Linked DNA regions of Homo sapiens: regions 1, 2, 3, 4 and 6 are each linked to region 5. Evidence: promoter capture Hi-C in 16 types of primary human blood cells and fetal thymus (Javierre and others, 2016). All regions are on one chromosome and are shown on one strand. The core of a region is centred on a gene start or on the middle of the fragment in contact, and the rest is flanking DNA. Distances in the headings are between cores, read along the strand shown. Region 1 overlaps CFAP20DC (CFAP20 domain containing). Region 2 has its middle 3.3 kb from the start of RPP14. Region 3 overlaps CFAP20DC-DT (CFAP20DC divergent transcript). Region 4 holds the start of PSMD6 (proteasome 26S subunit, non-ATPase 6). Region 5 holds the start of FHIT (fragile histidine triad diadenosine triphosphatase). Region 6 holds the start of KCTD6 (potassium channel tetramerization domain containing 6).

Region 1 (4,449 bases), core at 1,811-4,310, 2.2 Mb after region 5:
AAATGGAAAGATGATCGTTTTAATTGTAAAAAAACAGAAAAATCTTTTAATGTATTTCTTGTACAATGCCTTATAATTAAAAGTTAATCTGGCTTTTCTATATCATGTGTAGCACTGTAACAAATGAAACAGTTTATATAGTCTGCCCTGCACTGATGCCTTTAAGGTTATTTGGAATTTTTGATAACAGAAATTTATAGCTATTTTTACTTGTGTAAAATGACCTTCTATGTGAAGTTTGTATGGTTAAATTTAAATTGAATGACATGCCTTGAATAGATAATTGGCTTTTAATTAACATTTATAAATTCAATTACCGTTATGTATTCCTATTTTAAGAGTAAACATCCACTTTATTTATGCAAACTTGACATTAGGTACCCTATTTGTGTTTCTGTCTGTATTAGGTACTACTTAGGAAGAAAGTTTAGTAATGAAATTAAGTATGTTTTTTGTTTTAAAAAATAATATTTCTGATTTAACTTGTATTTGAGGATCTCAAACACATAAAATAAAGGAAATTGTGATATTACTTATCAGAATTGTGCACTTCTCTAGGGCAGGGATCTTCCTGAATCATCTTCTTTGTACCCTTAACTCAGTGCCTGGTACATGGTTGGTGTTCAATAAGTTTGTTAAATTTGCCATACTATGAAACTATGACAATTTGGGTCATAATTTTTCATTGTAACCAGTTGGCCTTGATAATGAGACTTGAGTAAACTCTTCACCAGCTAAATAAATAAATCCCTGCTGCTCTTCACTCTGGAACACATTATGTAGAGTTGCCCATATGAGGAGCAGCTCTGTCACACATAAACATATGTCATTTGGAGGGTCTTCTTCAGAGCTTTCTGTTGGAGGCTCATGTTTGAAACCATTGTTTTCTCTGCCTGTGGCATCTGAATCAAATGATGTGTCTCGGGGGAGTAGCATCCCTGAAGCCTGGCATTGTTCTGCATTTCAGCTGCTCTGGAGGATGAGGTCACCTTTATGAGGTTTCCCCAGGCCTCCTCAAGCCCCCACTTTAGTATCATTTTTATCTTGTCATGACTTCCTCTGTTTAAAACCCCTCAGTGGCTTTGATCTGCCTCTATTTTCCTGAATCCGGTGGACAGTTCTCAGCCCTCATCTTACTTCACATATTAGCATCATTTGAGAAAGTTGACACCTCCTTCTTATATTTTCCTCACTCATACCCAAGATGTCCATACTCCTAGTTTTCTTCCCATTTCACTGTTCTTCTTTCTTAGCCTCCTTTTGTGGTTCTTCCTCTTTTCCCCAACTTGAATTAATGTTGCAGCGTCCCTGGACTCAGTCGTTGGCACTCTATCTACACTTACTCCCTTGGTTATCAGCTTCCAGCTCATGGATTTAAATGCCATCTCTGTCTTACTCTAGCTTACATTTCCAGCTCAGACTTCTCTCCTAACTCTAGACTTCTTGAATATCATCTTACTTACTTGACATTTCTACGCTTGGACAGCTGAAATACAATATGTCCAAAGCCTAACTTCTGGTCTTTACTCCTCGAAATTCCTTCTCCTGCAGGCTGCCCCATTTCTGCTGTTAGCAACTTATCTTTTCAGTTGCTTAGAAAAAAAGCTTTTAAATCAGCTTTGATTTTTCTTTCTCTTCATTCAGTCTATCTGGAAGGTCTTGTTGGCACTATGTTTAAAATAGGTTGAGAGTCTGATCACTTCTTGGTACCTCCAGTGCTACTGGCCAAAGCCACCAGTATCTCATGCTTGGATTATTGTAGTAACCTAATTGGTCTCCCTGTTTCTGACTTGGCCTCTGTATTACAGTCTATTGTCAAATTAGCAGCCAGAGTAATACTTTTAAATTGTAAGAAACACATAAGTAATGTTACTCCTCCACTAAAAATGTCCCATCTCTCTCAGATTAAAACTCAAAAACCTACAGGACTCTGCAGTATCTGGTGCCCTTCTTAGTTCTGACCTATTTCCTATTACTCTTTTTCTCGTTCGTGCTTTTGCAACCATACAGGTCCCATTGCTGTTTTGAAACATAGTCCAGTGCACTATCACCTTGGCACCCATGCACAGACTGTACCCTCTACCTACAGCATTTACCCCCGAGAATAGACATTCAGTAAATCTTTGTCGAATAAATGAATTAATGTACGAGGGGTTTACCATTGATTTTAGGATGACTTATATTCTTCACATGGTCTTCAAGACCCCACATAATTGGTTTCCTCTCTACTTTGCCAAACCCGTCTCCTGCTGCATTTCCTCTTCTGTCTCTCCTATCAGCCCATTAAGCCCTTTTTAGGTTTATCCAATCTACTCCATCCTTTTCCATCATAGGATGGAGTACTCCCTCTGCCAGCAACGTTTGTTCCTCTCTCCTACACCCATCCCGCTTGCCCAGTCAATTCCTGTGTATTCATCCCAGCTGAGTTTCAATGCTTGTCCTTCAAGAAAAGCTTCACTAATCATCCTCTTCTCCTGCAAGGACCCAGGGTTATATGCTTTCATAGCACCCTGACTTTCTCCTTCATGGAGCTAGAATATAAATTCTAAAAGGTCAGAGAGCATGTATGTCTTATTTACTGCAAAAACTTCAGCATTGAGTCTTGTACGTAGTAGGTGCTCAGTAATCTTCGTTGCATGGTAGACCTAATTTAATCCATATAAATAATCCTATGAGTTGTAAATCTAAACTATTAACCCAGTTTTTACAGATGAAAAGTAAAAGGGCCCACACAGGTTTTCTAATTTGCTCAAGGGATATGGAATAGCCCATGATGAACAGATAACTAATTCCTGTTTTGTGTGTTGAAGTGGGAGAAAAAAAGTAGGTAGTTTGTTTCTGACAGACAACAGATTATAAAACTGTAAAAAGCTGCATATTTCAGGAAGAAACTAAATTTTTATGAATTTTATGTACTTGATGGACATTTTTGACTAACAGAATTTCCACATTCAACATTACTTAGAGAGAGTGATTTTAAATATAATGTAGACATGAATAGTCAGTTTAAATATACTAAGCCACTGGAAAAAAATGTTACTATAGAATTTATTTAGCATCTGACACACAGGATCAGTCTGTGTCAAATGTTATTAAAGTACTTTTTTTTTGTCAGATCATCACCATATGGTATCATAATATTTCTTTTAATCTTAGAAGTGAAACGTTTTGGAAACTGGGGCTTCTATATGTGAGAAAGTTGAATTACAAAACTTTCTTTTTTTGAGGGTAAGAACTCTTTTATATCTAAAAATGCTCATATAAAAATGCCCTATGTGTGTAACTCTTTGTGTTTGAAGAGAACAGTGCTGATTCAGTGAGATTTGTGACATAAATTAGGGACCTTTTTTAAAGACTGATTTCACTTATCCTGCTGTTCTCTCAGCTCTATTTACAGAGGCCATTGTGCAATGGAAAAATACTGTGGGGCCAATCAATGCAAGATGCAAGAGAGATTCATTGAGGATGGTTTATTTAAGTTGGCCTCATTTTGGTATCTCACTTTGCTTTTGTAGACCAGAGCTCTGCTTGCCTCACTGGCTTTTCCCATAAATATGGTAAAGTCAGATTTCTAGAGAATTTTCTAGGATCAAGGCCTGTGATCTCTTATTTCTGTTACATTGCTTACACTACTGATGGCCCTCTGGAGAGTACTAAGCAGAAGCTTAGTACTTTTAAGTAAAGGTTATCCCTGTATGTTTGATAAAAATGTTATGCATATTTGATCAAATATGTTTATTGTTTAGAATGTAAATCTGGGATAAAACATAGGAACTGTTATAAGTTGTTCAGGAATGTTGCAAAATGGGAATCATATACCAGAAGTTCTTTATATAGACTATCCAAAAACGTGTTGTTACTTTAAAATCCCTTAATTTGTTAAGCGTACTAAGTTGGAATAATATAAAATAGCATGAGTTTTAGACTAGTTGCCTTTTTTTTGTCTTTAATCCACGTGTTGGTCTGTACTATTGGCTTTGTAGGAGAGGTTCACAGATAAATCAAGACATCTCCATTTTCTACCCAAAAAGTCCCACAGCAGGAAAATATGTTTGTAAATTGCATGTTTTAGGAAGTGTCATACTAAAAACATCTGTTAAGAGCACCATAATTGAGAGATCAAGCAAAAGTTCAAAACCTAAGAGGAAAGGCATTAAGTGAACAGATCTGGAGAGGTAATATAAAATCAATTGATTTTTTAAGCAGTTGTAGAATTTAGCTGTCAAAAATGCTGTAGGGACTGGTTTCTCTGCAAATATTTTTAATCCAGATGAAGCTAGTAATAGGGAATAAAAGCTATCAGTTCTCAGTGAACATTAAATTAATTAAATATATGTTAATTAACAAAAGGTTTAAATGAAAATATGATCCTCTATTCATCTCATTGTGGACACATTTAAAACCATATGAATTAGCTATGGCTCATCAAACCTTCAGTTGTAGTTGTCA
Region 2 (4,351 bases), core at 1,066-3,565, 2.9 Mb after region 5:
CAATCCTGAGATGGCTATTACTATGATCATCACCATTTTAGAGGTAGAAACTGAGGCACAGGCCAGGCGCAGTGGCTCATGCCTGTAATTCCAGCACTTTGGGAGGCTGAGGCGGGCAGATCACTTGAGGCCAGGAATTCGAGACCAGCCTGGCCAGCATGGTGAGACCCCCATCTCTACTGAAAATACAAAAATTAGCTGGGCACGGTGGTGCACACCTGTAATCCCAGTTACTCGGGAGGCTGAAGCAGGAGAATTGCTTGAACCTGGGAGGTAGAGGTTGCAGTAAGCCGAGATCACACCACTGCACTCTAGCCTGGCAACAGGAAAAGAAACTGAGGCACAGAGAGGCTAAGTTATTTGCTCAAGATCACAGTTATAAGCAGTGGCATGGGCTGTCTGATTCTAGCCAGTGCTCTCCATACTGCACTGTATTACCACCAATTGAGGGGCTGCAGTGGGAAGGGAAACTTTAGTGTAACCCCCATGAGGATGGGGCCTTGTCTGTGTTTCTCACCACTGCATCCCAGTTCCTGGTACCCAATGGTGACCCAACATCTATTTACTGAAGGCATTTGTTCATAAATGGATGTGCTGGTTTTGCTTGGGTTGGGGGGCAAAGGGTTGCCTTGCACAGGACAGTTGAGTCAGCGGGGATCTCCTTCCTCAATTATTTTCTCAAAATCCCACTGTGTTGTTTCCAGAAGCTTCAGTCCTCAACCTTGGCCATGCTCTCCAGTTCTGTGGTTCCTACTTTCTTCTTCCTTCAGAGGAGACAGGGCTTGTTCCAGATGTGGGAAGAGGTGGAGAAAGCAAACACAGACCCCACAGACCCAAGTATTATCTTTCTCAAAAAAGCTTGATTTCAGAAGCTGCCAGAACTTGCTTCAAATGCATCCTCTGCCACTTACCTACCTCCCTCATCTGTCACATGGAGAGATTATTAGCATCTACCTCACAGAGTTGAGGGAAAAAGAGTTGATGGTATAAAGTGTCTGGCACCCCAGGAAACCCTCAGTAATGGGAGAGGGTTCCTGTAAGCCAGCTGCCTGGCAAATGTATCCTGCCAGGTGGCCCAGGAAAACCAGAGCAATTCCTGTATTTTGAACTTCAAGGAACAATAGATAATTTTCACCCTGCTGCAACAAACCCTGAAAATGAAGTGTCTTCCCAGTTGCCTGAATTCTCTCATGCTGTCTTATTAATTCAGAGCGGAGGATAAAAGAGATGCCTTTGAATGATAAAGACAAAAAACTTGTTTTTTGGCTGGGTGTTGTGGCTCAGGCCTGTAATCCAGCACTTTAGGAGGCCGAGGTGGGCAGAACACCTGAGGTCAGGAGTTCAAGACCAGCCTGGCCAACATGGCGAAACCCTGTCTCTACTAAAAATACAAAAATTAGCTGGGTGTGATGGTGCGCACCTGTAATCCCAGCTACTCGGGAGGCTGAGGCAGGAGAATTGCTTGAACCCAGGAGGCAGAGGTTGCAGTAAGCTGAGATCACGCCACTGCACTCTAGCCGAGATGACAGAGCGAGACTCTGCCAACAAACAAAACAAAACAAAAAACAAAAAAAAACTTTTGTTTTTCAACTAAATTTTATATTAAAAAATCGTTTTTGGACAGTGTCTCACTGTCACCCAGACTGTAGTACAATAATGTGATCATGGGTCACTGTAGCCTCAACCTCCCAGGCTCAACCGATCCTCCCACCCCAGCCTCCCAAGTAGCTGGGACTACAGGTGCATGCCACCATGGCCAGCTAATTTTTAATTTTTTTGTAGAAACAGGGTCTCACCATGTTGCTCAGGCTGGTCTTGAACTCCTAGGCTCAAGCGATCCTTCTGCGTTGGCCTCCCAAAATGCTGGGATTACAGGTGTGAGGCACTGCACCATGCCTAAATTTTATCTTCTGAATAGGTACTGTAGGCTTACAGCATACATTTCAAATGACATAAAGGGATAGATATTAAAAAGTGAGTCTCCCTTCCACCTCTTCCCCTGTCAGCCTCTCCCCTCTCCAGGAGCAACAACTAGTATGAGTTTCTTAAGTGTCCCCTGAAAAATATGATATGGGGGCTTTTACCTCTTGACGATGTATCTAAAATTGCTCCAAATCAAAACACACAAGGCTGCCTCAGTCTTTTTTTCTTTTTTTTTTTGGAGACAGGGTCTTACTCTGTGGTCCAGGCTGGAGTACAGTGGTGCAAACATAGGTCACTGCAGCCTCAAACTCCTGGGCTCAAGTGATCCTCCTGCCTCAGCCTCCAGAGGAGCTGGGACTACAGGCATGTGTCACCACACCTGGCTAATTTTTTTGATTTTTATTTTTAGAGAGGGGATCTTGCTATGTTGCCCAGGTTAGCTGCCTCAGTCTTTATGAAAGTTACCCTGTACTGCATTGGGTGGAGCCAGTTAGTTCTTAAGAGGACCATTTCAGGTACCCTCTGTGTTTCAGAGCAAAGTTGTTGGGGTCGGTCTCTATTTTATGTCCCTGAAAGGTACGGCAGCCAAGAATGAGTTAAGTCCACACTTCCCCTCTGCTGTGTGGCTCCCCTCCCTGCCTTACTTATTGGTGCCAAATGGATTTTTCTAAAGCTGAGGAGCTTTCTCAACTTGGGGAAGAAAAGGCAAGAGAGAAGGGTCCAAGTGAGATTCCAGTCCCCCTGTTCTCCATTGATTTAATGGAAAACACCCCCTATGTCAGCAGATTGTGGAGATAGGACAAAGGAAGTGAAAATGATCAGAAGTTAAAACCTATGGAACTGTAGCCATTGTTTCTGTTTCGAGAATAAGATCACATAGTTTAGGGAGATTTGCCAAGTACCAGCTAACTTGCTCACATTATTCCATCAACCATGCAATGTCACTATAATTACCACTTTTCACAGATGAAGAAAATGAAGCTAAGTCATTTATCTAAGGTGGTGAGAGGCTCCAGAGCCTAAAAAGCTGCATTCCATCCCTCCCATGTGGAAGACCAGTCTGGGAGCTGCTCCTTTGAGGCAACTCAAGTGTCATCAACTCAAGCGTCATCTCCAAACAAGAAACTCTGAAAAGCAGGCAGTGCTTTAGAATCCCTAGAAGCCAAGCCTGAGAGAGAGACCCTCACGGAAGTGATTTACTGGGAGATGGCCCCCAAGTGAAATCTGTAAGGGAGGAGGGAAGCAAGATAGGGCAGGAGAAGAAGCCAAGCAAAGATGTGGATTTGAAACCGGTCCAATCATCCCACAGAACTGATGCTTACGGTTTCTTTTGAGTATATGTAGAGATTGACCTTCTCATCTTAAAATTTGAGAAGTTACATTTGTCTTATCTGAGTTCCTTTCTCAGTAAACCAACCATGAGGCTTCCCAGGTAGTATCAAGGAGCTGAAACTCACCAGATCACTGCATTTGGACAATGACAGTCCAGACCCTTCACCCTTCATGACTGCCTGTCTCCCACGACCTGCTTTCTGTTGACCAACTCCCCTTCCTTATCCTTCCCTGATTCCTGTTTTCCTGCATTTGTTATATTTCTGCTGTATAAACTCCTAATTTTAGTCAGTCAGGGAGATGGATTTGAGACTGATCTCCCATGTCCACAGCAGCAGCTCTCAAAGAAAGCCTTCTTCCCTGGCAATATTCATTGTTTCAGTGATTAGCTTTCTCTTTGGTGAGCAGCAGGACCTAGAAGCAACACTTGGTGTTTCAGTAACAGATTCAGCTGAGTCTAGCCTCAGCTGGATCCCATGGGGAGTCCTGGAGCATAAATGATACTAAGGAAGCTTCTAGGCTTTGAGGCAAGGGGGCCAAGCCTTCTATAGGTGTCATTGGCTGCTACCTATAGGGTTGCCAGATTTAGCAAATAAAAATATAGGATAGGCCAGGCACGGCGGCTCATGTCTGTAATCACAGTGCTTTTGGAGGCTGAGGCAGGAGGATTGCTTGAACCCAGGAGTTCTTACCCGTATGTATGTGTGCAAATGCACAGAAATCCCAGTGGACTGACTGATGGGGGAAGGGTGGGGCTGTGCAGAGGGTGTAAGAGACTTTCATTTTTTCAGCAATCTTTTTGTTTGATTTTTTTTTTTGAGACAGAGTTTTGTTCTTGTTGCCCAGGCTGGAGTGCAATGGCACAATCTCAGCTCACTGCAACTTCTGTCTCCCAGGTTCAAGCTATTCTCCTGCCTCAGCCTCCCAAGTAACTGGGATTACAGGCATGCACCATCACACGGGGCTAATTTGTTTTTTGTTTTTCGTTTTGTTTTGTTTTGTTTGAGTCGGAGTTTCGCTCTTGTTGCCCAGACTGGAGTGCAATGGCCCGATCTCTGCTCACCTCCACCTCCACCTCCTGGGTTCAAGCAATTCT
Region 3 (4,676 bases), core at 2,056-4,555, 2.0 Mb after region 5:
AGATTTGTTGAGCCTAGCAGCTCGAGAACAGCTTAGGCAAGATTAGGGAGACTCTATCTCTTCAAAATATGTGAAAATTTCGCTGATGTAATGGCAAGCGCCTACAGTCCCAGCTACTCAGGAGGCTGAGGTGGGAGGATCACTTAAGCGTGGGAGGTCAAGGCTGCAGTAAGCCGTGATCACACCACTGTACTCCATCCTGGATGGCAGAGCAAGACCCTGTCTCGAAAAGAAAAGGAAAAAGAAAAGGGGAGAGGACGGGAGGCAAGGGGAAAAGCTAGTATTATGTAGCACAGATGAAATGTATGAATATAATGGAGTGCTAATTGTGTCTCCTGGACATCAATGCTGGAGCTAATCAGAGAAGATGAAGAACAGAGAGGGCAGAGGTAATCAAGAAAAGCACTGGAAGAGGGGATAGTTTCCTGGGAAAGGAACATCTCCTGCAGTTAGAAAACTGAGCACAGCCTCAGGAAGTCAGGGGTCAGGAAGAGGAGTAGCCTGATCACCCAGCAAGGAGGGGCCACTATTGAGAACAACATGGGAAGGGTACACATAATCTGAAGAGCTGGGCAGGAAAATTGAGATTGAAAGCAGTGGGAAAGAGGATGCTAAAGATTTCTGAGCAGGTGCAACTCGTACTGCCTTCATGTAGTCTAAATCTCTCCCTATATTAGTTTTATGAAGTTGCTGTAACAAATTACCATAAGTTTAGTGGATTAAAACAACACAAATTTACCTCTTCCAGGTCTGTAGTCCAGCATGGGTCTCACTGGACTAAAATCGGGGTGTCAGCAGGACTGCATTCCTTTCTGGAGACTCTAGGGAAAATTTCTTGCCTTTTTCAGCTTCTAGAGACCACTCACCTACCTTTGGCTTCTGGCCACCTTCCTTCATCTTCAAAGGCAGCAACACTGCACCTTTCTTACTGTTCTCCTGTAGTCACGTGTCTCTTGGGCTACAGCTGTCAAAGTTCCATGCTTTCAAGCATTTGTGTGATTAGATTGGGGCCATCTGGTTAATCCAAACTCATCTTTCCTGTGATTAAGGTGCTTAATGTTAATCAAATCTGCAAAGACCCTTTTGCCATGTAAGGTAACATATTCATAGGTTCCAGGGATAAGGACATGAATATTTGGGGCAGCCATTATTTTGCCAACCACACTCTTGAATATCACCTGGCCACTCATGTATCTCCAGTCTCCATATCTGTAAGGCATCGTTCTCCCTACTTCCTGGATGACCATCCTCTGCTCAAAAACCCCAATCGTTTCCCACTCACTGAACACCAAGCTGCTTAGCTTGGCATTCCTGTCGAATAACTGGAAACACTCATTTACCAACCAAATAAAATAATAAAAGTAGTGTCTAAGGGAGACCTGTGAAAGGTGAAGACGAGGCAGAGGTGAAGGAGCGATGGGTGGGAGGCAGTGATCCAGAGTTGAGTTGAGAGGGGCAGACAGCCACCCTGTGGCTTTAGAGCCAAGCTCCATCACTGGGAGCTGTGACATCGGAAAGTGACATAATCTCTTTGAGCTCCAGTTACTTTGCCTATTGAAAAGGGGACAATAGTAGGACCTGCTTCACTGGATTGTTGTGTCAGTTAATAATACACAGCAAGCATTTATCACAAAGTAAGCATTCAATAAATGTTAGTTCTCTTTTCTCAGTACAAGAAAAAAATAAAGCAGTAGAATTATAGTAAAAGATTCAGGAGAACCATCTAAGGAATGCAGAGGTATTAAACTTCAGACTTAGTTTAGGATAATTGGTCTTTCCACATGGGTAGAAGATGCCATGTTGCTTCTTTTTATGTGTGACCATATTTCTATAAAGAACTAATGAAAAAATATCATTAGCAATGAATGTTTAATTGAAGAATTAAAATTTAGAGAAACAGAGCCTAAATGGATGTGATAAGTATGGAATGAAAGTTCTTAAACATGTGTGTATGTATGTTGTATAATATCATCATTAAAAACTGAATGATATTCATAACCATTGAGCATTAGAAAATTTGTGAATTATTTATTTATTCATTCAAAAATACTCATTGAACTCAGTGAGATGTAGCTTAAACACTTTAAGATACACCATGTCCTCTTGGAACTTACATTCAAGAGAAGGATGAAAGATAATAAATACGTATAAGTGAACTACTCTTCTCTCCAAGAATTTTTTCACAGGCCCTTAATAAATGAAGCATATATGCCGTTCTAAATTATATTCTAACTTCATACATTTTTTCATATTAAAGCAGGAAGAAAGCTTAAATATTATATCAAGATAAAATCTATAAATAAGGTAGGAAGTCTTAATAATCCATTACTGTTAAGAGTATTTGCACACATTAAAGTATACTTCTTATTTTTATACCCCCACATCATTCTTAACATGTTTAGAGATAGCTAAAAGAAATCCATTAATGCAACAACATAGAACCAAAGAAAGAGAAAAAGAAAAGAGAAAGAGAGAGAAAGGAAACAGAAGGAAAGGAAGGACAGGAGGGGAAGGAAGGAAGGAAGGAAGGAAGGAAGAGGCTAAATAAAAACAACAAGAAGGAAATAAGAAGGTTCCTGGAACACATTTCTTTTTGTAAAAGGTGCTGAAGATTTGGTTCTGAGCTACTTAGCAGTGAACATGAAGATGAAACATAACTGTTAGCAATAAGCATGAGGTTCTAAAAATAAAAATAAGCACGTACCTGAAGAGAAGTACATCTTTATTTGCTTTTGAGCCCTAAGGGGAATCTCTTCCATAGATTCTCTTAATCGCTGTAACATAATATCTTCAATAACATACAGTAGTGAGCTGTTAGATATTTCACAACTGGGTTTTGGGGTGTGGGGCAGGGTGCTGATTCGATGCACTATAGTGTGAATACTTCAACCTTGGCCAATTTCATGCTACCAACATGACACCTCTGAACTTGCAGTTGGACAGTGGCTTACTTTATATAACATTTCCTTCACACTAATACAATAGTCATGAACAACCTCAAGAGCATAGTTAAGAGTAAAATGTAGTCAAATAATTAGGAAGTGATGCATTTTACATATTTATTAACTTTCTTTTTGATATAATGTATTTAATGGTAACTTCATATAATTTATTTGTTAATAATGGCTTAGCAACCAGATTGCACACCACTGAACATCCTAGACTACATAGTACATTTCTCATGGTTATTCCTTTAAAGTTCCTCAACGTAGGCTTATGGTCCAACACCAAAGAGCAATTCAAAGGGAGTGATTTTATGAAGGGTCAAAACCATGCAGTCCTGCAAGATCAGCAACATCCAAGAATAAAATGGTAAAAGTTTAGATACAATCATTTTAATGATGGTGTTCTCAATACAATGGATGGCTGCAGGTGAGTGTCAGTGAAAGGGGTGGATTTCCAGCCAGCACTTCAAGATTGACACCTACTCGCTGTGCCACAGATTACACACAGCCAGCACCCTCAGCCATGCAAGTGTGTTGCACCATCCATGCTTTCCTCTGCTTCTCTGTGAGCAGAAAGCCTGGACGCTACTGATCTTGAAAAATGGATGGAACAGAGACCCTTTGGGCATTCATAAGTGTGAGTATAGTTAAGCCACTGAGCTTGGTAAGACCAGGGTAATGGGGAATTTGAGCGTATGTCCTCTTCCAGGAGCCTGGAAGATAAATCTTCTAGTCAACTGGATGCAGGCAGAGAGAGTTAGCATCCTCTTATGAAAGTCAAGGAATATCCCAAAACACCTGCCTGACCAGAAGACCGCCCTACCTGTGCACGGAGGGCAGCTGAACTAATATATGTGACCATAGCAGCGTCCTGTTGGGGACATTTGCTATAGGCTAAATGTCTCTCTTGAACAAGACATTCAAATGTTCAAATAAATCATATGTTTGGGGAAAACAGTCTCAGGAAAATTTAATTCTACTACCACAGTTTCATTGATTTTTTATGTTCCTTTACTTTTAAAAGACATTCAAAATAATTAACCCTGGTGGATTTTGACATTCGCTGTCCCTTAGAGTACTATCAACTTTAATTAGATTCTAGAAATGAAGTAACAATATCTTATCAACAGAAAGACATTTTGAGGATGGTAAAGTCAATATCAGATACGACTAACTTTAAGAAAACATTAAAAGCCGAATGTATAAAACAGATGAATTAGCAGGATATAACTTACGTTTCCAGAATTATTCCTGACTTTACAAAAGCATTCACTGCAGGGATCCTTTAAATAGCAGATTCGTTTTGTGCATTTGAAATATTAACTAATTTATACAAACTCCATTTTGAGGATGTACATATGATGTTAATCTAGGCACACTGCAATCAGCAAAGCTTATCTGTTCTACATGTTAGCTGTGTAATTGGAGGCAAGTGTGAATTTCTCTGATACGTGGTTTTCACATCTCTACCTGCACAGAATACCACTCAGAGTTGCTGTGTTAAATATATCTTATTTTTGCAAGTGTTTTATATAAAGTTCTTTTGGAATGTTCCTTGTTCAGGAAGGATGAAAGGGTTCTAGTAGTTACTTAGTGCCTCACATATACCAAGTGTGCTCACATACATTGTTTTATTTTCTCTTCACTGCATTGTTACTGAAGTCTCATCATTACTAAATTAAGACACTATGGGCCGGGCGCGGTGGCTCACGCCTGTAATCCCAGCACTTT
Region 4 (4,709 bases), core at 2,151-4,650, 2.8 Mb before region 5:
CTAAAAATTTAGAAAAATAAATGAGGGGGGAAACTGTGATACTTGGAAATTAACAAAGTTAATATCCTTAAAATATGAAGATTGCTTACTAGTCAGTGAGGAAAGATTCCATAGAGAATTGACAAAGCCAAACAAGAATTTCATAAAACAGAAAATATATGTGGTCAGTAAAATGTGAAAAAAAGATTAACCTCACCAATCATAAAAGGAATGCAAAGGAAAAGCAACTGTTAGCAAAACTTAAAATAGCTGATGAAAGTACATTGGGAGACAGGTCTGATGGGGTTCAGGACACGCAATCTCAAAATATCACACCTTGTGCTTTGAGGAAGTGGTAGAAGCAGGAAGGTCACTCTCATCTTCTCTGTGCCCTTCTCGCTTGAAGCCAGTTATAAAAGAATTCCCTGAACTTCCTATAAGGTAGGTCATAAGACCCTCATTCCAAACATATTATCCCTATGCTCAAAGAAAAGAAATCCCTTATATATGAAGATACAGGGACACAGAGAAGAATCTGAACACACAGACCTTGGTAAGTCCCCCCAGTTTATTACCATCACATCACACCCCCTTTGACCAATCATACTTCTACATAACTGTCCATTCTTCATCAAATTTACCTTACAAATATACAGATTTCTTCATTTCTTTGGGTCTTCATTTCCAAAGGCTCTCATGTCACCTAAAATTTATATTAAATATATTTGTATGCTTTTCTTCTGTTATTTTATTTATTTTATTTTTTTTGAGACAAAGTGTCACTCTGTCACCCAGGTTGGAGTGCAGTGGCACAATCTCAGCTCACTGCAACCTCCGCCTGCTGGGTTCAAGCAATTCTCCTGCCTCAGCCTCCCGAGTAACTGGGACTACAGGTGTGCGCCACCATGCCCTGCTAATGAGGTTTCACCATGCTGGCCAGGCTGGTCTCAAATTCCTGACCTCGTGATCTGCCTGCCTCAGCCTCTTAAAATGCTGGGATTACAGGTGTGAGCCACCTCTCCTGGCCCTGCTATTCTATCTTTTATTATAGGTGCCTCAGCTATGAACCTCGCAATGGGTGAAGAAAGGATACTACTTTTTCTCCCCTGCAGGTTCTCTGTTCAATATTAGTGGCAATGTAAATTGATATATATATCATTTGTGGAAAATAATTCATAAAATACTTACAGAATACATCAAAATATAAAATATTAATGCCCTCTTATTCAGCAATTGCACGTCTAGAGATTTAGATTGAGAAATAACTATTTAAGTGTGAAAATATATATGTACACGGATAAGTGACACTGTAATATTAATAAGATTGAAAAAAACAAAAATAACCCAAATCAACCAGCACTTAAGGACTGATGAAGAAAAAGTTGGTATAGAAATATAATGGGCCGGGTGTGGTGGCTCACACCTGTAATCCCAGCATTTTGGGAGGCTGAGGTGGGCGGATCTCCTGAGGTCAGGAATTCGAGACCAGCCTGGCCAATATGGTGAAACCCCGTCTCTACTAAAAATACAAAAATTAGCCAGGCTTGGTGGCACGTGCCTGTAATCCTAGCTACTCAGGAGGCCAAGGCAGGAGAATCGCTTGAACCCGGGAGATGGAGGTTGCAGTGAGCCAAGATCACCCCACTGTACTCCAGCCTGAGATCCGTCTCAAACAGAGTGAGATCCGTCTCAAAAATAACAAACAAACAGAAATAAATATAATGGAATCCTATATGGTCAATCCATTGTCATCCAAGATATCCACAATACATGGTAGAATGAATAAAACACAGTTTAAAATGTGCGAGTATAGAATGATCATGTTAATATACCCAGATGAGTTTTAAAGAAGCTATGCTTCTCTGGAATGTAAGTTCCAAAGACAGGGCTTTGTGCTCTTCACTGCTGAGTCCTTGAGGCCTAAGACAGTGCCTGGTACTTTGTAACCATGCAATCATGTTTGTTGAATGACTAAATGAAAGAATTTTAGAAAGTTTTTTACCAAAAGTTTAGCAGTGGTGGAGAGCTATTTAATAGTATTTTTTTTTTACTCTTCATATTTTCTCTATCATTTGAGTTGTCTTCAAAATGCTTGTTTCATTTTTATAGAAACAAATAATAGATTTAAATTATGTGATGATGCCTACTGCCTGTGAGATGTGGCAGTCTCACCTGTTTCAGCAGCTGTGTAAACTGGTTCAGCTCTTTTGGAAAACCATTTAACATTAAATATCCCCAAGTCACAAAATCCTTCTTCCCTTTGTCCGTTATTCCTTCATGGGATTTTATGCTAAGGAAAAAGATGCAAAACATGAAGTGATCTAGACATCCAAAGTCTTCATCCAAGTTTTTATATTAGGTAAGTAAAAACTCTGGTCAACCTAAAGACACCTCTAACAGAGGGAAGAGTGAAAGTAAATTATGGTAAATCCATTAGATGGAATTTAGGCCAGGCATGGTGGCCCACACCTGTAATCCCAGCACTTTGGACGACTGAGGCGGGGGAATCACTTGAGGTCAGAAGGTCAAGACCAGCCTGGCCAACATGGTGAAACCCCGTCTCTACTAAAAATACAAAAATTAGCCCGGCATGGTGGTGCAGGCCTGTAATCCCAGCTACTTGGGAGGCTGAGGCAGGAGAATCGATTGAAGCTGGGAGGCAGAGGTTGCAGTGAGCCAAGATTGTGCCACTGCACTCCAGCCTGGGTGACAGGGCAAGACTCCGTTTCAAAAAAAAAAGGAATTTAATGTAAAGATTACCACCTCTGAAGATCTGTAGCAATGTGAACAAAAGGAAGCTGAAAATGCAGGCATGTAATGATTTAATTTATGTGTAAACAAAACGATGATGCTGTTGTACTATGACGTAGAATCCTGGGTGCAGTTTTTTTTTCTTCTTAAAACCGCAGAAAGAATGTGGATTTTAGAGTTCTAGATAGGGGTTTTCATTTAGGCCTTGCGACATGGCTGTTACATGACCTTGGTTGGTCTGTTTCCCTAACCTCTTTGTGCCTCATTTGTCTTACCTACTAAATAGGCTAATAGTACTACCTCGCAGCATGAAGATGATTTTAATAAGATGAATGAGAGTAACGACTCGACAAACTATGGTGATTGTTTTTATTAATGCTGTTATTACATTTTCAGTTTTCAAAAAATTTTAAGCTCCCATCAGTTACAAACGGAAAGTAAAATAGCTAAAAAGGGAGTGAGAAAGAGATTCAAGAAATTGGGCTTTTGAGTTGGGCTGCACCCACTCTGGGACTCCGCAGGGGGCCTTGAGGGTGGAAAAGCCCCCGTGACCACACAGGGGCGCAGGCGCCCAGGCCGGGTGAGGCGTTCCCGGAGGTGTCCAGCAGAGGACGCTGCCGGCGGAGACGGGACCGGAAGCCGGGCCGCAGGCGGCCGGGCGTATTCGCCGACTCCTCCCGCTTCCGCTGCCGCAGCCGGTCGTAACCAAGTTGTGTCCTGTCAGCCGCTGTCCCCTTCGCCGCGATGCCGCTGGAGAACCTGGAGGAGGAGGGTCTGCCCAAGAACCCCGACTTGCGTATCGCGCAGCTGCGCTTCCTGCTCAGCCTGCCCGAGCACCGCGGAGACGCTGCCGTGCGCGACGAGCTGATGGCGGCCGTCCGCGATAACAGTGAGGCCCGCACGAGCGCCGAGTCAGCGGCCTAGGCCTGGGCCGTCCCCGCGTTCCGGAGCCTGCGGGGACTTTTTTTGATGGAGCTCCAGACCCCTCTGACGGGGTCTCAGAGACCAGGCCTGGCTTCTCCGGCCCTTAGGGTTTTGCTTTGGTTTGGGGATACCCTGGGGGACCTCGACTTGCCTCAGCGGGGTCTGCATCTCTCTGTGCCGCCTTCCCCTGTAAGGGCAGCTTGGGGGAGAATCGTGAGGCATTAATATTTACCCCTGTGCTAGGCACAGAGTAAAGGCCCCGTGACTTTCTGTCAGTGGGGACTGCTCCCGGGCGCGGGGTATTCCTGTGGGAGAGTTCAGCTTGCCTGTGGAAGGGAAATTTGGGTTCGGTTCTTTCTGGCCCTTCTGTAGTGAATGTGTATGTTTGAACATATGTATGTGAGTATGTGTGTATAAAAAGTCTTTCCCTGTTTGAAGACTTTTGGAACAGAATCCGGCAAGAGCAAACCGAGGATTGCCCTCCCTCCAGCCCTAGTAGAGGTTGGCATTGCCAGGATTGGCCGTCACGCAAACCTCCCACCAGCATACGTTTATGTTTTGCCAAGCCGATTATTAAGCGCCATCGCATGCCTTCCTGTTAGTGGGGAAGAGACTGGTGGATGACTTGTGGCGGGGCGGGGGGTGAAATACGTGGGCAGACTTTGACTTGAGGGCACAAGTGTCCCCACTCACACATCCCTCTTTTTGCATGTTAGACATGGCTCCTTACTATGAAGCCTTGTGCAAATCCCTCGACTGGCAGATAGACGTGGACCTACTCAATAAAATGAAGAAGGCAAATGAAGATGAGTTGAAGCGTTTGGATGAGGAGCTGGAAGATGCAGAGAAGAATCTAGGAGAGAGCGAAATTCGCGATGCAATGATGGCAAAGGCCGAGTACCTCTGCCGGATAGGTGACAAAGTGAGTAGAGATGGTTTTCCCTCTCTGTAGTTAGTATAGGCTAAAATTGGAGACTATTCCAGGTAATCGTTTCTCATTAAAAAAATTAACTTCGTTTTAGAAAAAGTATAAAGGTAATCATGCTTGCTTGTAC
Region 5 (4,827 bases), core at 134-2,633:
ATGTGGCCATGGTGTCTGTGTGATGAACTATAATCCAATGTGACATTCTCTGAGAGTCAAGCTTCCAAGGACATCAGATTTTCACACCAGGACACTTTGTAGGACACCTTGCTACTCTCCATGGGATTCAAATATTAGAAATAATGAGAGATCTAAGACTTGATGTAATTGCCTGCATGTAATGAATCAGGCCAAATAAAAAAGTGAGAGACAGAGAAAGGAAATGGTGCTAAGGAAAATGGGGACCTATCTTAGTGTTTGTCTGAGAGAAAACTGCTCTTTGTTTTTCCCGATGTAATGGCAAGAGTCTGCAGCCAGGAATCTAGTCCTTGCTTAGGAGCTGCATGACCTTGTGAAAATTACGTAGGTGTTCTGCAATTTGTAATTGCATTTATTGTAAAATTAATTTTACTTTTCATACGTCACTAGACAGAGCATTTTGAGGTTAGGAATTGGGTCTGAATCAATGATTTCTCCAGCACCCACATGGCATTTGGCACAGAATACATCAATAATGATTTTGGATTAAACAGGGGAACAAGCACAAGGAACCATGGTGGTCAGAAACGGGTTGATCTGCACCAGAGAAAGGGAGACTAGGGGAGAAAGGTCACTCTAGATTTCGTTCAATTATTGAAAATACGGTGTATTTACTATGTGCTGGGCACTTTTCTAGGTGCTAGAAAGACTACAGTGACCAAAACAAAAATCCACATCTGCAGGGATCTTGCATTCTAGTGAGAAAGTAAGATGGTAAAAAAGATAAATACGTAAATTTTATACAATGCTTCGTAACGACAAATGCTAAGGAGAAAAACAGCACAGAAAAGACAGAAAGGAAAAGAGAAGGGGCGCATGTGGTGCAATTTTGTTAGGATGCCAGGGAGGGCTGAGCGTAGTCGTAAATGACCACATTATTTGATGGATCAAGCCAGGGACTGCAAGTCTGTGTTTCTGAGAGACACATAAAGAAAAGAAGGCTTAAGGAATCCAGAAAGATCCAGAGTGGGGAAATGAAACGAAAAGAAATCCAGCCAGTGGGAAGTCGTGAAGGGATAGTTAAACGCGTTTTGGGAGGAAAGAAAAAAGCAAAAGTGCGGTACAGCCTTTCGTTACACGTGAAAAGAATCATGTTTCTTTTTCTAGTTAGAAAAAGCCAAAGATTGTGCGATTTATGCCCCAAACCCCCTTGTAAGGGGATTCTCACCTCAACTTGTCTTCTGTGGTCAGTGTTTCCCGCCCCTGAATCAGGGTTACTGTCACTATGGCTTTCAATTGGCCCGGCGTAGGCGCATGCTCTGCGCGTATTGGCCTCCGCTCCTGTCCCCAGACAAGCGGCCATCTTGGGTCCCGCCCCTACCGTGGGGTCTTCTGGGAATTGCAGTCCCCGCTCTGCTCTGTCCGGTCACAGGACTTTTTGCCCTCTGTTCCCGGGTCCCTCAGGCGGCCACCCAGTGGGCACACTCCCAGGCGGCGCTCCGGCCCCGCGCTCCCTCCCTCTGCCTTTCATTCCCAGCTGTCAACATCCTGGAAGGTAGGGGCGGGGAGGCAAGCCCAAGTGGAATACTGTTTCTGGGGCGCGGGTCTGGGTTTCCACGCGCGTCAGGTCATCACCCCGGAGCCCAGTGGGGCCGGCGCCGCTCACGGGGCGGTGGGCTTCTGTCCCGAGTACTCTTCCGCCCCACGAGGGTCTCAGGGTGGGGACTCGGGCCCCCCAATTCCCAAGCACCGACCCTAGCCCTAACCCGTTCCTCCTCCACCGTGTTTATACATTGGGGAAACTGAGGCACGGGGCCACGCCAGCGGGTCCGGGGACGCCACAGCTCTTGGCTCTGGGGGTGTAGTCGGCACCCGCCGTTTTGGGATGGTTCGTCAGTTTCATAGACAAGTAGCGAAAATCCGTCCCAACAGGTCTGTGTTAAACACGCAGCTCTGGATTCCCCTAAGGGGTTGCTGAACACGTGCCCAGGACAGGAGCAAACCGGAGTATAGAGAAGGCAGCATTTTGGGAGATAATTTTACATTACTACTTCAAAAACAGGCAAAGAGGCATCGAATTTATTGTTGTGGGAGAACTCATCGGTACTTGGTCGGACTTTCTTACACTTATTTTATGGTTGTTGTTTTTATTTTTAGCGTCAAAGGGGGGAATTTTAAAGGTATATCCAAGTTGGTGGTGGTGGGGGGTAAGGAGGCAGGTTAGTGGAACTTGAGATGCATCTGCAGATTTCTCTGTAGGCTCACATTCTGCCCTCGCTGTGTTACCTTGGAACAGCCACTCACAGCGCTTATCTGGGAAACAAGGAGCTCAATGCTCCCAGGTCAAGTGGCCAAAGGATGTTGCCTGAAGCCGAAATCTAAATTGAGGTTATGCTTGTGAAAGTTTACCACTTGCAGATTTACTGCTATTATTATTCTGGTCTCTCAGAAATGTGCTGGGACCAATAGAAAATACTCACAGTGGTTGTTTTAGTAAGGTTCTGACCTGGGCCGGGCCCAGACTACCAAGGGTGGTCCCTACTCGCACCTGATGTTAAGCCGGATCTACCTGAACTCTCCCTCCTTGGCTTCAGCCTGCGGCCTGAGGCCTTGGCCGCGGAGGCTTCTGGGAGTTGCAGTCCCGCCTCTTGTTTCTCGTCGGGCAGGTACTCCACCTCGTGGCGTGCCATTTTGCACGGCGAGATGTCTCCTGGGAGACGAAGTCTCGCTTCTAGCCGTTCTGTAGAGCAGCCGCTTGACTCGGAACTACAACTCCCATGTGGACCTGCGTTCATGGCTGCCGGCCTGTGTCCACCTGCTGCAACCTGGACTAGAAATATTTAGTAAAGAAAGAAGTCTAGGGTTTGTGTGTGTGTGTGTGTGTGTGTGTGTGTGTGTGTGTGTGTGTGTGTGTGTGTGTGTTGTTATTGATTGCATATGCTGTTCTAAGTGTTAGATATGGGATTGTTGTATACGGTGTTCCAAGTATTAACGTACATGCTTCCAAAACCACTAACACTTGACCATTTAGAACCTGTTCACATGATCTCTTTTTAATACTACATTTCCCATTTGTATATGAGAAAAAACTTGAGAAGATAGCCCATGATTACACAGCTAGCAATATAATATATATTCAATAAAATATATGTGTTATAATTTAATCCTCTTAAAAGCTATATGAGAGTGAGAACCATTTTTATATCAACTTTACAGATTAGAAAACTAAGGCTAGGAAAGTTAAGTAACTTGTTCAAGTTAAAACACTGGTGAATAAAAGGACTGAGACTGTAAGCCCTTCTGCTTAACAGTCTCTGCTTAGAGAAAGACCTTACCTTACAGAGCTGAGGAGGAGTCCAACCTTTCTGGCTACAGAATTTGGAATCTTTTAATTATACCATGCTGCCTCTGTACTTAGATACTAAACATTTGAGCTGCAAAAACCTTTGAGATCATTTAATTCTAATGCAAAGATCTTGGAACACTTCTTGGCCTATAATAAAGATTCCATATATATATGTATATAGTTTTAGAATACCTTTATTTTAGAGATTAGGAAACTGGCCCAGGTGGTAAAGCAGTTTGCCCAAGGTCACACAGTTGGTTTGTGTCAGAGATTAGACTAGAACCAAGCATCTTATTTTCAAGTCCAGGGTTATTTTCATTCCACCAGCAGTCAGCTAGCAGGAACACCAGATGTGTAGCTCTTTAGATAATGGTTTCTCCTCTAATTTGCTCTTTCAAGGCCACAGACCAGGACCAATTGTTATAAATTATCTTATTTATTATTGGTAAGGTTGTAATACTTCATGAATTCAACAAATGTTTTTTGAGCTTCTTTATATGGTCATCTCTCTTAAGGTGCAAGGACCACATAGATGATAAGGACTTAATGCATTCAGACTGGAAGGACCTTATAAATAATCTAATCTAACTCTTATTTTATAAATGAGGAGAGTGTGTTACGAAGTAGTCTGCAATCTTCATCTCATGCCCTCATGTCAAAAGTATCCCGTTTCTGCAAGAAGGCAGGTTTCTGGAGTCCTCACAGTAGTGTGGATAACCTTTTTAGGCTTATGCTTTTCTATTTGGTATCCTTGTCTTGGCCTTTTTCCTGCAGCCTTTGATAGAATGCTTTAGGAAATGTTTTTGTGTCCCCATCTTTATTTGTGTGTTTATGCAACTTCAACATGCTCTGTTTCTATTTTGGAAGTTAGTCTGGTTTTGGCTCCCATTACTCTTTTCTCTTTTGTTCTTTCAGACACTTGAGAACAAATTCTGACACTATGTTTGCATTCACATGTTAAAATCTGACCCTCTAATATGAACTCTCAGAAATCTATCAAGTTGTGACTTTCATTTTGGAAGACATATTGGCCCTTTCAATTATGTATTCACAGATAATAAGGCAGGTAACTCTGGTCTCTTCTGAAAGATGATTTCCATATAGTTAGGTAATAAAGTAACAGTTTTATGAATTATTGGCTAAACATTCCTGAAACAGTCTATTTGAGAAGTTCTCCTCATCACCCCCATGCCCCCACCCCCACGCTCTCCCAACTGATAGTCTGATCATTCAGCTTCCACCACAGTGCCTGACCACCAGTAGACACTGAAAAAGTACTTGTGGCATTGCATTCATAAGCACCCTGTTCCCACATCTCTTCATTGAATCTGTTTACTCTTTTAATGCAGAAGTGCAGCTTTGAAATATAAGATGTAGGAGGTTACTTTGCTTTCAACATGTACATTGCAGAGAAAAATCTCAGCCTTTGAGATCATTCTCCAAGGGGTTGTCTCTTTGGGAATGTCCATATCTGTGACTTCTCAGATGAGAAAGTGATCTAT
Region 6 (4,262 bases), core at 568-3,067, 2.8 Mb after region 5:
TGCAATTACAGGCCTAATGGTTATGATGAACTAACTTAACAAAAATATTCTGGGTTTATCATTCCTGCTATAGATTAAGAATTCTCCGGGGCAAAAGTCCTAATCCTATATAACTACCTATATGTTGCAATAAAAACCTCCAACGAATAATAAAAAACTCCAACTACTGACTTCCCAGAGTTTCCAGGCAGCCCTTTAAAAATGCTTTTTTACTGAAACCTTCGTGTCTGGTAGTCAGAAAAGACTCAATAAACTCCCTCTTTCTATACTTACCTTCAAAATTGCCTTGTATTGAGTTTTGCTCTTCTTGAAATGTGGGAGTTTGAAAGCGAAATACTTTTTATAGTAACTAGTTCAGCGACATCTAAAGGAGTCTTTGGGGTTAACATTCACATACAGGCCAGCATAAGTAGCCAGGCATACAAGGATAATGTGATTATGGTTAGATTATCCTTAACCATACCACTGCAGAAATGGATTTTTCTCTACAAGTAATCATTTTCTCTTTCTCCTTTCTCAACCATGTGGTCTAGAAGAGAGAAGCTATAGGTTTAAAAGTGACCTAATATTAAAAAGCTGTCACAAATAGTCACAAAATCATAACATTCCTCTTAACCCTCAGTTTCCGCAAGATAAAACGGGATAATACCACCTTCCCAAAACGGGGTAATTACACCATTTAGGCACAACACAAAGGCAAAAATTGGCCTATAAGAGTAACACATCAGGACAAGGAAAGAGAACAGGTTCCCAGGGAGGTCCTGTAGTTGAATTCTGCTCCGTTACTGATTATGAGACCCTGAGAAAATCACTCTTTATGCCCAGCTTCTTCTTTGGGGAAATGGAGAAAATAAGGGAGATCATGAATATAAAACCATCTGTAAACTAGCAAGTATTAGACAAATGTGAAAACATTAGTGGCAGCAGCATAAACAAAATTTCTAGGTTAACATGAGAAACTTGAGTGTGAACACAAGTAATTTAGAGCATTGGCCTGGAGACGGCAAATATGGAGGAGGCAGCCTCTTAATTTGCTTCAAATCTCCCCAGGTCCTCCTTTTCCCAGAGCTCCAGAAGGGAGAACTATATACAGGTAAAGGGGAGTGTCTAGTTTTCCCAGAGTTCACCAAACACCTGAGCTCCTGATCTCAGAAGGAACTTCTTTAAAGCATGACTCGGGATTATCTCCAAGTTAAAGCTGAATCCAAATACATACAGGTACTCCATTTTAAATGGACCCCAAATATCAAAATCCAAGCGCACTGAAGGATTCATAGGGTTCACCCTAAGATTCCTTTAAGTAGTAATGCTTTGGTTAAAATATGATTTATGAAAATTCAAATCACAAAACTTTGGAATGGCATCCATGGCTATCCTGACCACTCCATCGTTCATATCTAAGGCATAGCACAAAATCAAGTATCAGTATGGACTGATGGTTTCGGCCAAAGAGAAAATACTCTCAACCTACCAACCCTGCTGACAAACACATTTTCCTTTTCCTAGCTACATATTCGTTCATTTGAAAACATCTCAATCTTGGGCTCAGGACTGTGCTACATGCTGTCCCCAAGCTTCTCTCCTATCCCAGGATGATTCAAGTAATAGGGCATTTGTGACAGCGAAAAAAAGAACATGCCAGGGGGATATAGAAGAGATACTTAGGCTACCCCAAATATTCTTAGCCGAGCCGGGTCATCCCAGGTCACTTTGCCACCCAAACCTCTTCTATCACAAAGTCCTAAAATTGGATCCATCAACTTGTTCTAGAACTGGTATACTTGAACAGAAACATGGTAACTTCGGCAGAATATCCAAACAGGATCTCTGTCACGTTTCATTTCCCCGTCCCACCCCCAGACACAGCCTCCACCACTGTCAGCCCAGCAGGTGCTGCCAGGGCTCCCCATTACCATGGCCATTTATCACCTCTGACATCAAGCATTAAAAACGCCACCACACACACACAAATCTAGGCATAAAGAACTCAGCTGCGATCTGAGAGTCTCTTCAGGGCAGAAAATCCCAAAGGCAGGGTTTTGAGTCCTGCCTCAAGCTTTAAACTAGGGCAATTGGTGGCTAATAAGCGCCATCTCCCAAAAACAATCATTTTCGAGCACACCCCAAATATCTCCGTCCGGGCCGCCCTTCGCTGCTGCCCCGCCAGCGAAGCCCCCGCAACCCGACCCGGCCAGGGGTAGGGCGGGCGATGCTCCGGGCCCGGACGAGGGGCGCGCCGCGGGGCTCCGAACCCGGGCCCGCAGAAACCGCGCATCCCCGCCGGGCGGGCCCCGGAACCCCCGCCCAGGCCCCGCCGCGGGCACCTCCGCTGCTGGCTCGTGCCAGCCCGGGACGCGCGGTCCCCTCAACGCGGCCCCGCCGCCGCCCCGTTCCAGGAGCCCCCGCCCAGATCCTCCTCAGCCCCGCTCCCCTGGCCGCTCGGCGCAGACGTCTCCTGAAACCCGGCCCTCCCAAACCCCGGCCCCGCAAGCCCCGCGCCAGCCCCACTCACTGCGCGGCGGCGGCGGCTGCTGCGGCCGGGCCGGGAGATGCCCGCGGCCGGAGAGCGCGAGCGCGGGGACAAGCGAGCCCGCGCCCGGCGACGGCGGCGGCGGCGGCGGCAGAGGGGACGACTGAGCCCGCGCCCGGAGTTGCGGCTCCAGCTGCCCGGCGCGGGCGGCGCCTTCCCAGCAGAGCCGCGGCGCCACGAGCGCGGGCGCCCCCTAACGGCAGCGCGGGCTGGAAGCCAGAGAGCGGGCGGCCTGAGGAACTCAGCCAGCGCAGTCGGAGCCGCGCGGTCAAGACCACACGACCGCAGCCCCGAAGCCCCGCCCCGAAGCCCCAGTCCCGCCCCTTAGGCTCCGCTCCGAAGCCCCGAAACCCCGCCCCTACGTCCCGCCTCCGCCCGCAGCCTGGGGTCCGCCCAACCCCAGGCCCACTGCGTCCTCAGGGGTGGTGCCTCCACAGCTGTTTCTCCTTAGTCATTTCACGAACTTGTATGGGCCCCCCACTATATCTCAGGCCTGGGGGTTTAGGAGATACAGCGGCCACCAAGACGGAGGCGGGTCCTAATCAAAGGAGAAGACAGACAAGACTCAAGGAAACAGCTAATAGACAAAATAATGACAAGTTATGGCCGTAAGTGTTGGGAGGGACATGATTAGAGGACTTAGATGGAGAAGAAGGGAAGGGAGCCCCTGCTCCAAACGCAGTGGCCGAGGAAGACCTGGACCCCGACCTGCGGCCAGAGCTCCTCCTGCCTGCCCTGCATTGGGGAGACAACCCTGCGATGAGGCCTGTGAAGAAGCCCCCGGGGCCACCGGGGCAAGACGGTCTGGTCCGGCCTGACGGGCAAGACAGCAAAGGGCTGCTGGGCCCAGAAGCTCAGCAACACGGGCAGCCAGGTGGAGAGAAGGGCAGAGCTACCTTCAGCAGACAAAACGACCCATGCAAAGGCTCTGGGGCCTGGAGGAGCTCGACCCTAGATGAGACTGGCGCTGGTATTGTCCCCACTTCACCAGGAAGGAAGCCAAGGCTGCAGAGGATGGGCAGCACCTAACGCCTCAGGGCTAATTGGTCTCCATCCGTCCACTCGTTCCAAGTCCATTCACTTCCTGCTAGCCAGGCCACTGTCCCCTTCCGGTGGGACCAGTTACCTGATGCTGGGTTTAACCTTCTCCACCAGAATAACCACTGGCCTTAGAAACTCACTTGGGTTTCACGTCTGCATGTGTGTGAGCTAGCTCTGGGGTTGAAATTGTATCAGCATGATCATCACAGTTATATCTGATACTTGATTTGTCTCCAAAAGCTCAAATTGATAGGTTAAATAAATGACATATGCTTCATCAACATAACTGAGTGCTACATTATCAAATTCACAAAGACTAGGTGAGAATACAGGGAAATGTGTGTGAAAATGATCAATACACAAACTAGTACACATGATATCCTGATTTTATTTTTAAAAACATAAATATATACAGACAAAAATTTTGAAGGAAATACATCAAACCATTGACCATCGTGTTCAAGATAACAGTATGGGAATGTTAATGGCATTACTTCATAACGTTCTTCTGAATTTTCATGAATATTGAATTTATAATCAGAACACATAAATATTGAATTTATAATCAGAAAAATACAATGAGTTTTGGTTTGGTTTTTCTTTTTTTTTTTTTTTGCCCCCCACTCCTCCCCACCCCACTGGGTTTTGTTGTTTTTTAATAGAAGGACAATACCAAAATTACCCAATACTC

What was found. The method cuts DNA at HindIII sites, captures the fragments that hold promoters and counts their contacts. A CHiCAGO score of 5 or more calls a contact.
Region 1: a contact is called between a fragment that was not itself captured here and the fragment with the promoter of FHIT in region 5, in 2 of 17 cell types (total CD4 T cells and naive CD8 T cells). The highest score is 9.3, in total CD4 T cells.
Region 2: a fragment that was not itself captured here is called in contact with the fragment with the promoter of FHIT in region 5 in 1 of 17 cell types (non-activated CD4 T cells); the score reaches 8.4 in non-activated CD4 T cells.
Region 3: a fragment that was not itself captured here is called in contact with the fragment with the promoter of FHIT in region 5 in 3 of 17 cell types (naive CD4 T cells, naive CD8 T cells and total CD4 T cells); the score reaches 6.6 in naive CD4 T cells.
Region 4: the fragment with the promoter of PSMD6 here is called in contact with the fragment with the promoter of FHIT in region 5 in 1 of 17 cell types (total B cells); the score reaches 6.9 in total B cells.
Region 6: a fragment that was not itself captured here is called in contact with the fragment with the promoter of FHIT in region 5 in 4 of 17 cell types (non-activated CD4 T cells, total CD8 T cells, naive CD8 T cells and 1 more); the score reaches 6.8 in non-activated CD4 T cells.

Annotation. Positions count from the first base shown.
Region 1 is chr3:59,040,088-59,044,536 of GRCh38, reverse strand. The region is part of intron 3 of CFAP20DC (CFAP20 domain containing); the gene reads left to right. Among named protein-coding and RNA genes, the nearest start is that of CFAP20DC, 7.7 kb to the left of the region's middle. The HindIII fragment of the contact is 1,212 bases long and covers 2,455-3,666 here.
Region 2 is chr3:58,300,724-58,305,074 of GRCh38, reverse strand. No RefSeq gene overlaps it. Among named protein-coding and RNA genes, the nearest start is that of RPP14, 3.3 kb to the left of the region's middle. The HindIII fragment of the contact is 2,909 bases long and covers 861-3,769 here.
Region 3 is chr3:59,204,602-59,209,277 of GRCh38, reverse strand. All of the region lies in intron 4 of CFAP20DC-DT (CFAP20DC divergent transcript), which reads right to left. Among named protein-coding and RNA genes, the nearest start is that of CFAP20DC-DT, 120 kb to the right of the region's middle. The HindIII fragment of the contact is 2,070 bases long and covers 2,271-4,340 here.
Region 4 is chr3:64,022,185-64,026,893 of GRCh38, reverse strand. PSMD6 (proteasome 26S subunit, non-ATPase 6) reads left to right here and starts at 3,400. Exons shown (of 8, transcript NM_014814.3): 1 at 3,400-3,619; 2 at 4,371-4,576. The coding sequence starts at 3,475. It overlaps LOC105377121 (a long non-coding RNA gene), which reads right to left and starts at 2,819. Exons shown (of 3, transcript XR_940906.3): 1 at 2,743-2,819; 2 at 2,152-2,269; 3 at 534-682. RefSeq lists a silencer at 3,192-3,291 and enhancers at 2,854-3,475, 3,442-3,791, 3,476-4,098. The HindIII fragment of the contact is 6,204 bases long and covers 1-4,709 here.
Region 5 is chr3:61,248,008-61,252,834 of GRCh38, reverse strand. FHIT (fragile histidine triad diadenosine triphosphatase) reads left to right here and starts at 1,383. Exons shown (of 10, transcript NM_002012.4): 1 at 1,383-1,534. LOC124909387 (a long non-coding RNA gene) reads right to left here and starts at 1,243. Exons shown (of 2, transcript XR_007095939.1): 1 at 1,208-1,243. RefSeq lists enhancers at 1,286-1,580, 1,645-1,704, 1,835-1,964, 2,105-2,234, 2,515-2,794. The HindIII fragment of the contact is 4,935 bases long and covers 64-4,827 here.
Region 6 is chr3:58,490,420-58,494,681 of GRCh38, reverse strand. It overlaps KCTD6 (potassium channel tetramerization domain containing 6), which reads right to left and starts at 2,586. Exons shown (of 3, transcript NM_001128214.2): 1 at 2,513-2,586. RefSeq lists a silencer at 2,286-2,935. The HindIII fragment of the contact is 482 bases long and covers 1,577-2,058 here.